3 separate regions of the Homo sapiens genome follow, and regions 2 and 3 are each linked to region 1. The links are contacts of gene promoters, found by promoter capture Hi-C in human tissues and cell types (Jung and others, 2019). All regions are on one chromosome and are shown on one strand. Each heading gives the region's core, a stretch centred on a gene start or on the middle of the fragment in contact. The rest is flanking DNA. Distances are from core to core; before and after follow the strand shown.

Region 1 (4,073 bases), core at 496-2,995:
CAGTGAAAGATGCATCTGAATCTAAATACTTATCTTCAGGCAGTTGTGGCTTCTGACTTTGTTCTGCAGAGCTTAATAGTTTAACTTTGGATGACGGAATTCTGAATTTTGTACCCAACATTTGTGATTGTCTTTTTCTATATAGTTCTCTTTTTTCATGTACCACCAACATATCAGGATTTGTCAGCTTTAAACGTAGTCTTAGTGTATTTGTTAAGCCATAAAGTAGCCTCCCTTTTGGAACTCTTTTATGGAGGGCACCACTGCTCTTTTCAGAATATTTATCTTCCTTATAGTTTTCAATTTGGTTCTTTTTATACTGAAGACTCACTGACTTTTCACATCCCCCCACAGAACGCTTATCCTTCTTGGCTTCAGACCGGCATGTGGATTTGGCAGAAGATTCGGGTGACTTCTTATCCTCAGTCCTATATAACCAGGCTAGGTGAGGATGTATATGAGCAGGACTTGTCACAGGTTGGTCATATAACAAGGACAACTCAACTAACAAAGCATTTAACAAAGGCAACTGCCTTATTGTATTAATTCGATTTTGTTCAGTTTGACATGTTTGATTAGTTGCTCCTATATTCTGAATATGTGGAGGATTTACAAGCATTGGAGGATGTTCGTGTGCTGCAGAACTTGGATGCTTTAGACAACTCCTGTGTGCTGGGGGATTTACACGCTTTTTTTCAGGAGAAGCATCATCCATTTCCTCAGGTGCATTCATTTGAGGCTCAATGGTGATTTTAGCCTGTGCAGGGGGCGGTTTTTCTTGGGTCAAGTTAGTGTAATACAAAGGAGGAGGGCAAAATATATTGGTCTCCATGTCCAATTCTGTGACTTCCTCATTTAGGGAGCTAACATTTCTCCCATTGCCAGCACCTGAACATGTAACAACAGAATTGGTTTTGCCATTCTCCACAGAACCCACATTATCACATTCGGCCTTACTTTTAACCATTTCCTTCAAATCCTTCTGTGCCTCTGGGATTTCTAACTCCCCCAGCGGCTTATCAGCCTCTTTTGGGCTTGGCTGTGAGGCTGGCTGCTGCAGCTGCTGTCTTTCCTGCTGGGTTTGGGGACTGACCTCCGCTCCTCCTCCTGTGCGGGTGAAGGTGAGGGGCCGCTCAAGTTGGCTCAGCAGGCGGCTTCCCAGGTCAGTCAGGCGGTAGGCCAGTGCAATGTCCCCAGTCCGCTCGCCCACTCGATTATGCAGGGGGAAACGTCCCCGGTGACGGTGGGAGCATCCGGAGGCGGCCGGCCCCACGACCCTGTGCGCTGCGGTGGCCAGCGAAATGTCGCAGGCCCCCAGGAGCTGTGGGGTGGGCGTCGGGCGCCCAGGGGGCAGCTGCAGCAGCAAGGTGGCAAGCGGGGTCCGCAGGAGCCGGCAGTGCAGGGTAGCAGGCTGCAGGCGGAAGAGGCAGGACTTGCCGCGACCGAAGCGGATGACACCGGGCCACGGTTCGGCGGCGGGAGCGCCGGGGCCGTCAGGAGGGTAAACCAACAGCGTGGGGAAGTCCAGCAGGCGGAAGGCCACGGCGGGGCACAGACCGCGCGGCGACGAGGCCTCCCCCTGCTCCTTTTCCTCCTCTTCCTCCTCCTGCTCCACTGCGGCAGCGGGGGACGGCAGCAGCCGGGCTTCCAAACGCACCCAGTCCACCAGCAGCTCCAGCGAGAAGAGCCGCTCGGACAGCGAGGCCGCCATTGCTGTTGCCCCAGGAAACGCCGCCGCGGGCTCCGCAAACGAGAAGCTGAAGCCCCGGGGTCTCACGAGAAACCGGAGCAAAAGGCATCGCTGCCTGCTATCTCGCGAGATTTGCGGAAGCGCTCCAGCGGGTCTCGGGCGGTGTCTGCTTTGGGGGTTTTGCTGCTCAATGTGTTTGGCCCCTTTGTATGCATACTTGTGAGCCGTTTTTTGCCACCAACCTTGTATTAAGACAATTGATGATAATGCTGAGGATATAAGTGGTAAAAGACAGTGAGTTTTTTGGGTAATGGTTTTATCACTGCAGATCTTATGTAACTTGGGGGTCAGATCAATATACCTGAGGAATATTGAAAGAAAATCAGGACTCTCCTTCCTTTCCCATGCTAAACAGAGCCAGTTAGTTAACTGTCCACAGTGGGCCATCTCTGTGTCTGCTGTTCTACCCAAAAGATGGTGACACTGCTGGGATGGCCAGGGAGCCCCTGCCTCATCAATTACAGTAGTACTGAGACAGACACACCACACACACACGGAGTGTGAATACACTGGCAAAAACTCTCCTTGGCTGAACTTTGGTCAGGCTCATCTAAGCCTTCTTTCCGACTAGGCCTTGACCTTGGCTTCCAATCCTGTGGACCCTGGATCACCGAGTTGTAGCAAAGGTCTCGCTACGGCTGTTGAGAGAGAACCCCCAACCCTTCATACCTGATTACCGTCGATACCTGATCAAATTCTTCATTTTCTATCATTGGTATCTGACCACCCTGGCCTGGCTTCAGCAAGAATCCTATTAGGCCTGCTTAATCAGAACCCTCCCACCCGTGATGTTCCCTATCAGTAAGTTTCCATCCACTTGACCTGACGCCCCCTTGGCTTTAAATCCCCACTTGTCCATGCTGTAATTGGAATTGAGCCCAGCTCTGTATTGAGGTCTCTTTTCTCTTATTGCAGTAGTTCCTGACTACAGTGTTTTTGCCACTTCAACTACTGTCTGGCCCTGTTTTTTATTTGACAACATTTCCAGCTAAGCAATCATGATGCATGAGAGTAATGTTAATGATTCCATCAATAAAACAAATGTGTGTACATAAATATACACACATCTACAGAGACACACAGAACTTGCTGCTCTATCCAGATATTTTAAGAAACATACTCCTAACCTCAATGAGCTAGCCAGCTAGGAATCCAAGGCCAGTTTTTGGAGAGCCTTGAATGCCATGGTAAAGAATTTGGACTATATTCTGTCCAAATTTTTTTGATTGAATAAGTACATCATAGCAATATTTGGAAATGTATCATGGGGAGGAATACAAAGGATGGATTCTACTAATTAGAAATTGGATTCAGAGCAATCTATTAGAAGACTACTGCAGTGGTCTAAGAGGCAGATAATTATGACCTGCACATGGTCAGGACTAGTGGAAATTAAAAAGAGGTGGCAGAAGAGGCATTTGTGATGGAGGAATTTTAAAATTTGGTGAATGGGAAAGAAAAGTCATGGGTGAAAAACTTCTGCTACTGAAGGTGAAAATATTGAGGAGGCACAGATTTGACGGAAAAAAATACTTTGAGTTTTGAGATATGTAAAGCTTGAGGTACCTGCTGCTGGGCATTATATATGTACCGCTTTATTCAGCTTTATAAATTATAGTTAAATTATATTGCTTCAGTGCTCAGAAGAACATTGTGAAGCTCAAGAGAAATTCAGAACTGGAGGGATATGATGCTTTAGTGTGAAGACGTGAGAGAGAAGTCTCATTGCAATATATAAATACAAGATACTTCTCGGACCAGATGCGGTGGCTCACGCCTGTAATCCCAGCACTTTGGGAGGCCGAGGCAGGCAGAACACGAGGTCAAGAGATCGAGGCCATCCTGGCCAACATGATGAAACCCCGTCTCTACTAAAAATACAAAAATCAGCTGGGTGTGGTGGTGCATGCCTGTAATCCCAGGTACTTGGGAGGCTGAGGCAGGAGAATCGCTTGAACCAGGGAGTTGGAGGTTGCAGTGAGTGAGCCGAGATCGCACCACTGCACTCCAGCCTGGTGACAAAGCGAGACTCCATCTAAAAAAAAAAAAAAAAATTACAAGATACTTCTCTTGGCTTTGAGAATCTTGCTATATACTTGCAGAGGACACATATCAAGCAACATCCTCAATGGATAGATGATGTAGAGCAATAAAAAAAAGACATCATCACAAGTGAAAAGCAATGAGGTATTGAGTCCATGTGCGCCAGAGAAATACAGTAGACAAAATTCCTCTTAGAAGATATCCTGTAGTTAGCCTTTTGAGTAAAGTTAATAGTGTGCACTAGTAGCACTTGTATGTCTCTTACATATGAATAGAAAAA
Region 2 (4,073 bases), core at 933-3,432, 57 kb before region 1:
TTCAGAGGCCCGAGGAAGTAGGATTCCAAGCAACAGTTTATGGTCTTCTTTTTTTTTTTTTTTTTTTGAGACAGAGTCTCAGCCTGTCGCCCAGGCTGGAGTACGATGGCGTGACCTCAGCTCACTACAATCTCTGCCTCCCGGGTTCAAACGATTCTCCTGCCTCTGCTTCCCGAGTAGCAGGGATTATAGGCACCGGCCACCATGCCCAGCTAATTTGTGTATTTTTAGTAGAAATGGGGTTTCCTCATGTTGGCCAGGCTGGTCTTGAACTCCTGACCTTGTGATCTGCCTGCCTTGGCCTCCCAAAGTGTTGGGATTACAGGCGTGAGCCACCGCGCCCGACACAGTTTATGGTCTTCTTATTGCAGGTCTGTAAGCAACAACTTCCTTCCTGGCTCTCTAGACTCTCTAGAAGAAAGAGCAAAATTTCAGCGTTCCCTATGCGTGTTTGAGAGCATATGACAGCCCAAGAGGAGATGTGAAGAATACCATGGAGAGTGCCAGGGGCCCATCTGCCTCCAAGCATGTTGAGATGGTTGACAGCAAGGAATAAGCATTTACAAGATGGCTAGACAAATAAAATACCATGACAACATGGAGTAAGTCTGGATAGAGACACTGTCACTGATAAATAAGACCCCCTGGTTCATGGAGTCCCTCGGAGCCTAACCACAAAGATGGACCTTAGAGATCGGAATAATTAAGTGTTTGTTTTTTATGACTAATGATAAGACGGCATATGGGCATATATCCTGTGGGATGAATATTTTACACACTTAACCTTATTAAAACAGCTTGGGTGGGTAGATTTCTTCAGGCAGTTTTAAAGCATTATGCTATCTCCAGGAAAGCAAACGTCTTCTGGCTATTGTGTGAGCAGATGGGAAGTGCTGAGAAAATCTGGAGATCAGACTCTTTGGCAACCATAGCACCCTATTAAATTGGTTTATACAATGATGGATACCCACAATAAACTAACAAGGTGGTTTCTGAAGTTGCCAGAATTTTCTCTTTTTTTGTATTTCAATTATAAAAACAGTAAAAATAATCTGTACATTTGTCTTTGGGTATATACTAGAAAGGTGAGAGAAAAGATAAGGGAACTCAAAGACTTTCTTAATTCTAAGGCCACCTTTGCCCGGATGACAAGCATCCCTTTTACGGTCCTTTGCTACCTAGCCATTCTGCTAGCTTATACTCAAGGAGGTTGTGATAGATCCAGCATCCAACTTCAGAAACCAGTCGATCATTTAATTCTTATTAATTATAAGAAGAACAGAACTATGCCATTCTGTACCTTCTTAAAGATAGAAACTACTTTAGAACAAAATTTATCCATGTTTAGTACTTAATTCAGGCAGATTTCTAATGTTTAACTATCTAACTGGAGGTCAAAGATATCAAAAGTTGCTAATAAGATCTAACATAATCAATACCATTCTATTGCATTACAAAGCCAAACTTTGATGGAAGTCAAAGCCCTATTCAAGACATTTCACTGAGCATACAACTTCAAATCAGTTCATTGATTGTTGTACATTTAAATCAAGCCGTTAAATTAACTTGACTGATCCTTCCAAGTGATCATTTATATTGAAATGAGCTGTTTGGGAGGGTGATGCAAACACAGCTTAAAAGCCTTCACAAATAGTAGAGTTGTGTTGGTGGTGGTGGAGTTTGTTGGTTGGTTTCGTTTTTTTTTGTCTTTGAGACAGGGTTTCACTCTGTCACCCAGGCTGAGTGCAGTGGCGCAATCACAGCGCACTGCAGCCTCGAGCTTGACCAATCCTCCCACCTCAGCCTCCTGAGTAGCTGGGACTACAGGCATGCATCACTAAGCCTGGGTAATTTTTAATTTTTTTTTTTTTTTGGAGACAGTCTTGCTCTGTTGCCCAGGCTGGAGTGCAGTGGCACGATCTCAGCTCACTGTGCAACCTCTGTCTCCTGGCTTAAAGCAATTCTCCTGCCTCAGCCTCCCGAGTAAGCTAGGACTACAGGCACACACTGCCACGCCTGGCTAAATTTTTGTATTTTAGTAGAGACGGGGTTTCAACGTGTTTCCCAGGCTAGTCTCGAACCCCTGAGCTCAGGCAATCCTCCTGCCTCGGCCTCCCAAAGTGCTAGGATTACAGGCATGAGCCACCACACCCAGAGTTTTCTTTTTTAGACATGTTCTCACTCTGGTTGCCCAGGCTGGAGTGCAATGGCACAATCTCGGCTCACTGTAGCCTCGACCGCCTGGGCTCAGGTGATTATCCCACCCCAACTCCTCGAGTAGCTGTGATTACAGGCGTACACTACCACACTTGGTTAATTTTTTGTATTTTTAGTAGAGTCGGGGTTTATCTATGTTGCCCAGGGCGGTCTCAAACTCCTGGACTCATGCAACCTGCCCACCTCAGCCTCCCAGAGTGCTGAAATTACTGGTGTGAGCCACTACGCGCGGCCTAGTAGTTTTTAGAGGCCCCAGGGTTGCTTCCTAAATGACTGTGACCTTACTACATTTTATACACAACTGAACAAAGCACGAACTCTCAGTTCTATTCCAGCTTCACGGAGCACCAAGAAGGAAATTGTTGCTTAAATATTTGCAAACGAAAGTTTAAAAGACCATACAGTGTTGTTAAAATCCAGTTTTCACTATTTCTGAGTTGAACCTCTGACACTTCTACAGGTATGGCCAATGAGAAGAACCTGCATTCAATGTAGAGAGAACAGGATTCTTGTGCTACTGGAAATCTTTAACAATTATAAATCAAACAGAGATTAGGCTTTTAGAATAACATTCTCACATAGAAAATTCCTTGATTGGCCATCTAGGTATATTCCCTGGCTTGTTTAAGCAAAATCAACCTTGTGCCATTCTGCACGACAACAGCTCTGCCCAGCAGTCACCAATCATCATTAGAACAAGGCTTAGGAGTCAGTGATTTCACACATTCTTCTGTTATCCTTGAGCATCCCTGGGCATTTTCAGTGGATAGCCATGAGAAACAAAAAATCAATTTGCCACTGTATAAACTGCCAAATAAGAATCATGACAGTTTATCCAGCCTGTTTGTGAAGATGCCCACAAACCCTATAGAGATTCTGCCAGCCAGCTTAGGCCGCAGGTCTCCATCCTGCCTTTGCGAATGTTCTCTCCCCCATGGCTGGAACCAGGTAATTCTCACTGCAGGCTCAGCAATGTGCTTTGTCCCTGGAATCAATTTTGGTCTGAGGCAGGAGGCATTAGGCCAGTTCCAAAGGTGATATTCAAAGGATATGCACATATACACACACACATATATATACACACAGACACACTCATACATGCATGACACACCCATGCATACACATAACGTTTGTTGTTGCTGTTGCTGCTACTTTGACCTGATGTGGTAACTCCGTTTCTCTAATCAAGCTTCCCTCCTGGGCATTACTTCTAGGTTCTGGTCTAGGATCCCAGCACACTGCTGATTCTGGGTTTCTACTTATATCATCTCTGTCCCCTTTCTGGGACAAGAGCCCTGCAGCCTATAGACAGATGTCTGCTACACTGACTATCATTCAAAAAGACTGTGTACTGCACACTCCAGAGCACCCTCCCTTTGTAAGAACTTCTTATTGGAAGACATTATTATGTCTTTCTGTCGCCATTTTGAACCCTTTGCTCGCACTGAGCATGGATGGCTGTATTGACTGGACACTTTGCTTTCCCATCATACCACCACTTCACAGCACTTTCAGCTGGTCCCTCTCATCTGGGTGCTCAGGTGGGTCCGGTTCCAGGACTTGGCCATTTCCCACTTTCCAGAAATATTTTAGAAATTACTAAAAACTCACTGGGAGTAAGAGTTGCCAGGTTTAGTAATAAAAGCACAGGATGCCCAGTTAAATTTGAATTTAAGATAAACAATGAATAAGGTTTTAATATAAGTATATCCCATACAATTATAAAATGCTCTTCATTGTTTATGTGAAATACGAATTTACCCAGGTGTCCTGTGATTGACTTGGCAGCTCTATTTGAAATGCCATGTTGAGTTCACAGATGCCTTTTGAAGATTGCAGCCTCTGGGGTCTGTTTT
Region 3 (4,073 bases), core at 981-3,480, 52 kb after region 1:
GGGGAGAGTAACATAGCCATATATAAGGGGAGTAACATAGGCAGACATGAGGAGAGTAACATAGCCATCTACGTAGGGAGCAACATAGCCAGATATGAGGGGAGTGACATAGCCAGATACAGAGAGAGTAACATAGCCACAAATGGTGGAGTAACATAGCCAGTTATGGGGAGAGTAACATAGCCATATATGGGGAGAGTAACATAGCCACATATGAGGGGAGTAACATAGCCAAAGTTGGGGAGAGTAACACAGCCACATATGGGGGAGTAACATAGCCAGAGACGCTGAGTAACTTAGCCAGATATGTGGAGAGTGTTATAGCCTTACCTGGGGAGCAACATAGCCACATATTAGGGAAGTAACATAGCCAGATAGGAGGGGAGTAACATAGCCAGTTATGGGGAGAGTAACATAGCCACATATGGGGAGTAACATAGCCGGATATGGTGAGACTAACATAGCTAGATAGAAGGGGAGTAACATAGCGAGTTATGGGGAGAGTAGCATAGCCACATATGGGGAGTAACATAGCTGGATATGATGAGACTAACATAGCCACATATGGGGGAGTAACATAACCAGAGATGGAGAGTAACTTGCCAGATATGGGGAGAGTGACATAGCCTCATATTAGGGAGTAACATAGCCATCTATGATGGAAGTAACATAGCCATATATGAGGGGAGTAATATAGCCATAGATGGGGAGAGTAACATGGCCACATATGGAATAGTAACTTAGCCAGATATGTGGGAAGTAACATAACCAGATATGGGGAAACCCTGACACATATGTGAGAGTAACAGCCAGAGATGATGAGTAACATACTCAGATATGACGGGAGTAACAGCCAAATATAGAGGTAGTAACATAGTCAGAGATGGGGAGTAACATAGCCAGATATGGAGAGAGTAACATAACCACATATGGGGAAGTAACATAGCCAGATATCAGGGGAGTAACATAGCCATTGGTGGCAAGTAACTTAGCCAAATATGGGAGGAGTAACACAGCCAGATATGGGGAGTGACATAGCCACATATGGGGGAGTTAACATATCCAGATATGGGGAGTAACATAGCTAGATATGGGGCAGTAACATAGCCAGAGATGGTTGGAATAACATAGCCAGATATGAGAAGTAACATAGCCAGAGATGGGGGGAGTAACATAGCCAGATATGGGCAGTAACATAGCCAAGTACAGGCATAACAAAGCCGGAGATGGGGAGTAACACAGTTCTGTAGAGAGTGTGTATTTATGTGTGGTGTCAGTTAAAGGGTATTGTATTCGTTTCCTGTGGCTGTGATGACAAATTACTACACATTTGGTAAATTAACAAAAATTTCCCTCTCAGAGTGCTGGAAGCCAGGTCTGAGATTAATGTGCCAGCAGGGCCAGGCTCCCTCCAGAGGGTCTAAGGGAGTTCTCTGTTCACCATATCCAGCTTCTGGTGTTGCCAACATTGCTGCACGTCCTCAGCCTTCCTTAGCACTTCCGTCTCTGCCTCCAACTTCACATCACCTTCTCCTCTGTTTGCGTCTGTCTCTCCCTTATAAAGATGCTTGTGAAGACTGTCTTACCTAAAGATCTTTAACTTAGGCATATCTGCACAGACCCTATTTCCAAATGAGGTCACATTTACAGGCTTCCAGAATTAAGATGTGAACATACCTTTGAAGTCATTCTCAGCCCACCTCAGGCATCAAACCTTATTCAGGCCAGGATCACCTCCATATCACCTGGGGGATCCAGGACAGAGAGATGCTGATCTAAGTGCTAGCATGTATGTAATATATCTGACAGTGAGTTATTACTGGATTTAATGGCGCGATGTCTACACACGACATAAAACTGTTGGGAGGGTGGGGTAGAGAGGCAAATTGCAACCTGAACTTAAGAAAAAGTTGAAGGTTTGATGGCATCACCATGTATTTTATTGAACTTACCTATAAATTATCCTGGATACTTTACACACCATTATTTAAACTATATTTTATGTAATTTTTTTCTTAGATCAAATTGTCTTTTTGTAGTAAATAATCTTTGAACAAATCTTAACTCTAGAGAAGGTCTGTTTCTGAGTTCTTGAATGTTTACAAATACTTTTATATCATTGCCCTACCATTTGAATGCTTTTTGGTTGGATATGAAACAATTGGTTTAAAAATAATTTTTCCTCAGAACATCTCAGAATGTTTTTATTTTGAGATAGGGTCCAAATCTGTTGCCCAGGCTGGAGTGCAGTGGTGCAATCACAGCTCACTGCAGCCTCAACTACTGAGCTCAAGAGATCCTACCACCTTGGCCTCAAAAGTGCCGGAATTACAGTCATAAGCCACCATGCCTGACTGTTTTTTTTTTTTGTTTTTTTTTTTTGAGGTGGAATCTCGCTGTGTCATCAGGCTGGAGTACAGTGGCACGATCTCGGCTCACTGCAACCTCTGATCCTGGGTTCAAGCAATTCTCCTGCCTCAGCCTCCCAAGTAGATGGGACTATAGGTCCCTGCCACCATGCCTAGGTAATTTTTGTATTTTTAGTAGAGACAGCGTTTCACCATGTTGGCCAGGCTGGTCTCGATCTCTTGACCTTGTGATCCACCCACCTCAGCCTCCCAAAGTGCTGGGATTACAGGTGTGAGCCACTGCGCCCGGCCCAGATTTTTTTTCAACATACAGTTTTGCCAATAAGAATTTCGATGACAACATAATTCTAATTTCTACATAGGTAATCTATTTTTCCTCTAGGAGTTTTTCGAAATATCTGTATTCTCTATAGCTCTAAGACTTCATAAAGATACATTCTAGCCTGGGTGCAGTGGCTCATGCCTGTAATTCCATTAGTTTGGGAGGCCATGATGGGAAGACTGTGGGAGCCTAGAAGTATGAGACCAGCATGGATAACATAGTGAGACTGTCTCTACAAAAAATACAAAAATTAGCCATGCATGGTGGCATGCACCTGTGTTCCCAGCTATTCAGGAGGATGAGGTGGGAGAATGCTGTGAGCCATGATGGCACCACTGCACTCCAGCCTGGATGACAAAGTGAGAATGTCTCAAAAAAAAAAAAAAAGATACATTCTAGATGCATCTTATCAATTTATATTGCTTAGGGATTATTATTTCTCTTATAATATATGTGGGTGGCTCTTTTTATGTAAAAAAAAAAATCTATGTTTCTCTTCAGCTATGATAAATTTTTATTTTTCTTTATAATTTTCTCCATTTAATTTTTTTCTATTTCTGAAACCATATTAGATATGTTGGAACTCTTGAAATGAGCTTTCCTGTCTTTGAACTCTTTCCCCATCTTTTTATCTTTTTGCTGTATGTTTTGGAATATTTCCTTAACTTTATCTTTTAGGTCACAGGTCACTAAACTACACTAAACTGTAGTCCATGGGCCGAATCCAGTCCACCACCTATTTTTGTAAGTAAAGGTGAATTTTGTAAATAAACTCTTTCTTGTTTGTATAGTATTTTGTAAATAAACCCTTTCTTCTTTGTATATTGTCAGGGACTACTTGCCTACTACCCTGGCAGATTGAGTAGTTGTGACAGAGACAACATAGTCTGGAAAACCAAAAATATTTAAAATCTGGCCTTTCACAGAAAAAAAAAAAATTCTGACCTTTGTTTTAGGTCACTAATTTGTCCTTTATTGTGCCTGTTCTTCTATTTATTCCTTCCAGTAAGTGCTCTATTTTTGTAATTCCATAATCCTAAGAACTATTGTTTGTCCTCTGTTTCTTTTCCATAGAAGTCTATTCTTGTTTTAGGGGGCAATGTCATCTTGAATCCTCTGGAGGATATTAAATAGAAAGTTTGGCAGTTCATTTCTCTATTGTGGATTTTCTGTTTTCTCTAGGGTCAATGTTCTGTCTCTTTCTCTTACTTCCTTTTTAATTTAATGGTTTCCTCCCTTAAGCATGTCCGTTTATGCCTAAGGATGAAGAACTGGATGAGTTAATACCACATAGGTGACCAGTGTGGGTTTCCTCTTCAGTTGAGGAGGGAGTCACCGGCAGCGGAGCCCTGCGTTCTGCAGACGGCTCTTTAATTACCCTG

The links. Contacts are between HindIII fragments. The study calls those that stand out against the background at their distance.
Region 2: a fragment that was not itself captured here is called in contact with the fragment with the promoter of MAP10 in region 1 in 1 of the 25 tissues and cell types used here (mesenchymal stem cells).
Region 3: a contact is called between a fragment that was not itself captured here and the fragment with the promoter of MAP10 in region 1, in 1 of the 25 tissues and cell types used here (neural progenitor cells).

The regions. Positions count from the first base shown.
Region 1 is chr1:232,803,088-232,807,160 of GRCh38, reverse strand. It overlaps MAP10 (microtubule associated protein 10), which reads right to left and starts at 1,745. Exons shown (of 1, transcript NM_019090.3): 1 at 1-1,745. The coding sequence starts at 1,711. RefSeq lists enhancers at 756-1,352, 1,562-1,641, 1,353-1,950. The HindIII fragment of the contact is 7,984 bases long and covers 1-4,073 here.
Region 2 is chr1:232,860,510-232,864,582 of GRCh38, reverse strand. All of the region lies in intron 4 of LOC101927711 (a long non-coding RNA gene), which reads right to left. Among named protein-coding and RNA genes, the nearest start is that of MAP10, 57 kb to the right of the region's middle. The HindIII fragment of the contact is 7,376 bases long and covers 1-4,073 here.
Region 3 is chr1:232,751,910-232,755,982 of GRCh38, reverse strand. It overlaps LOC107983960 (a long non-coding RNA gene), which reads right to left. Exons shown (of 5, transcript XR_949277.1): 4 at 1,678-1,745. Among named protein-coding and RNA genes, the nearest start is that of LINC01744, 11 kb to the right of the region's middle. The HindIII fragment of the contact is 6,788 bases long and covers 1-4,073 here.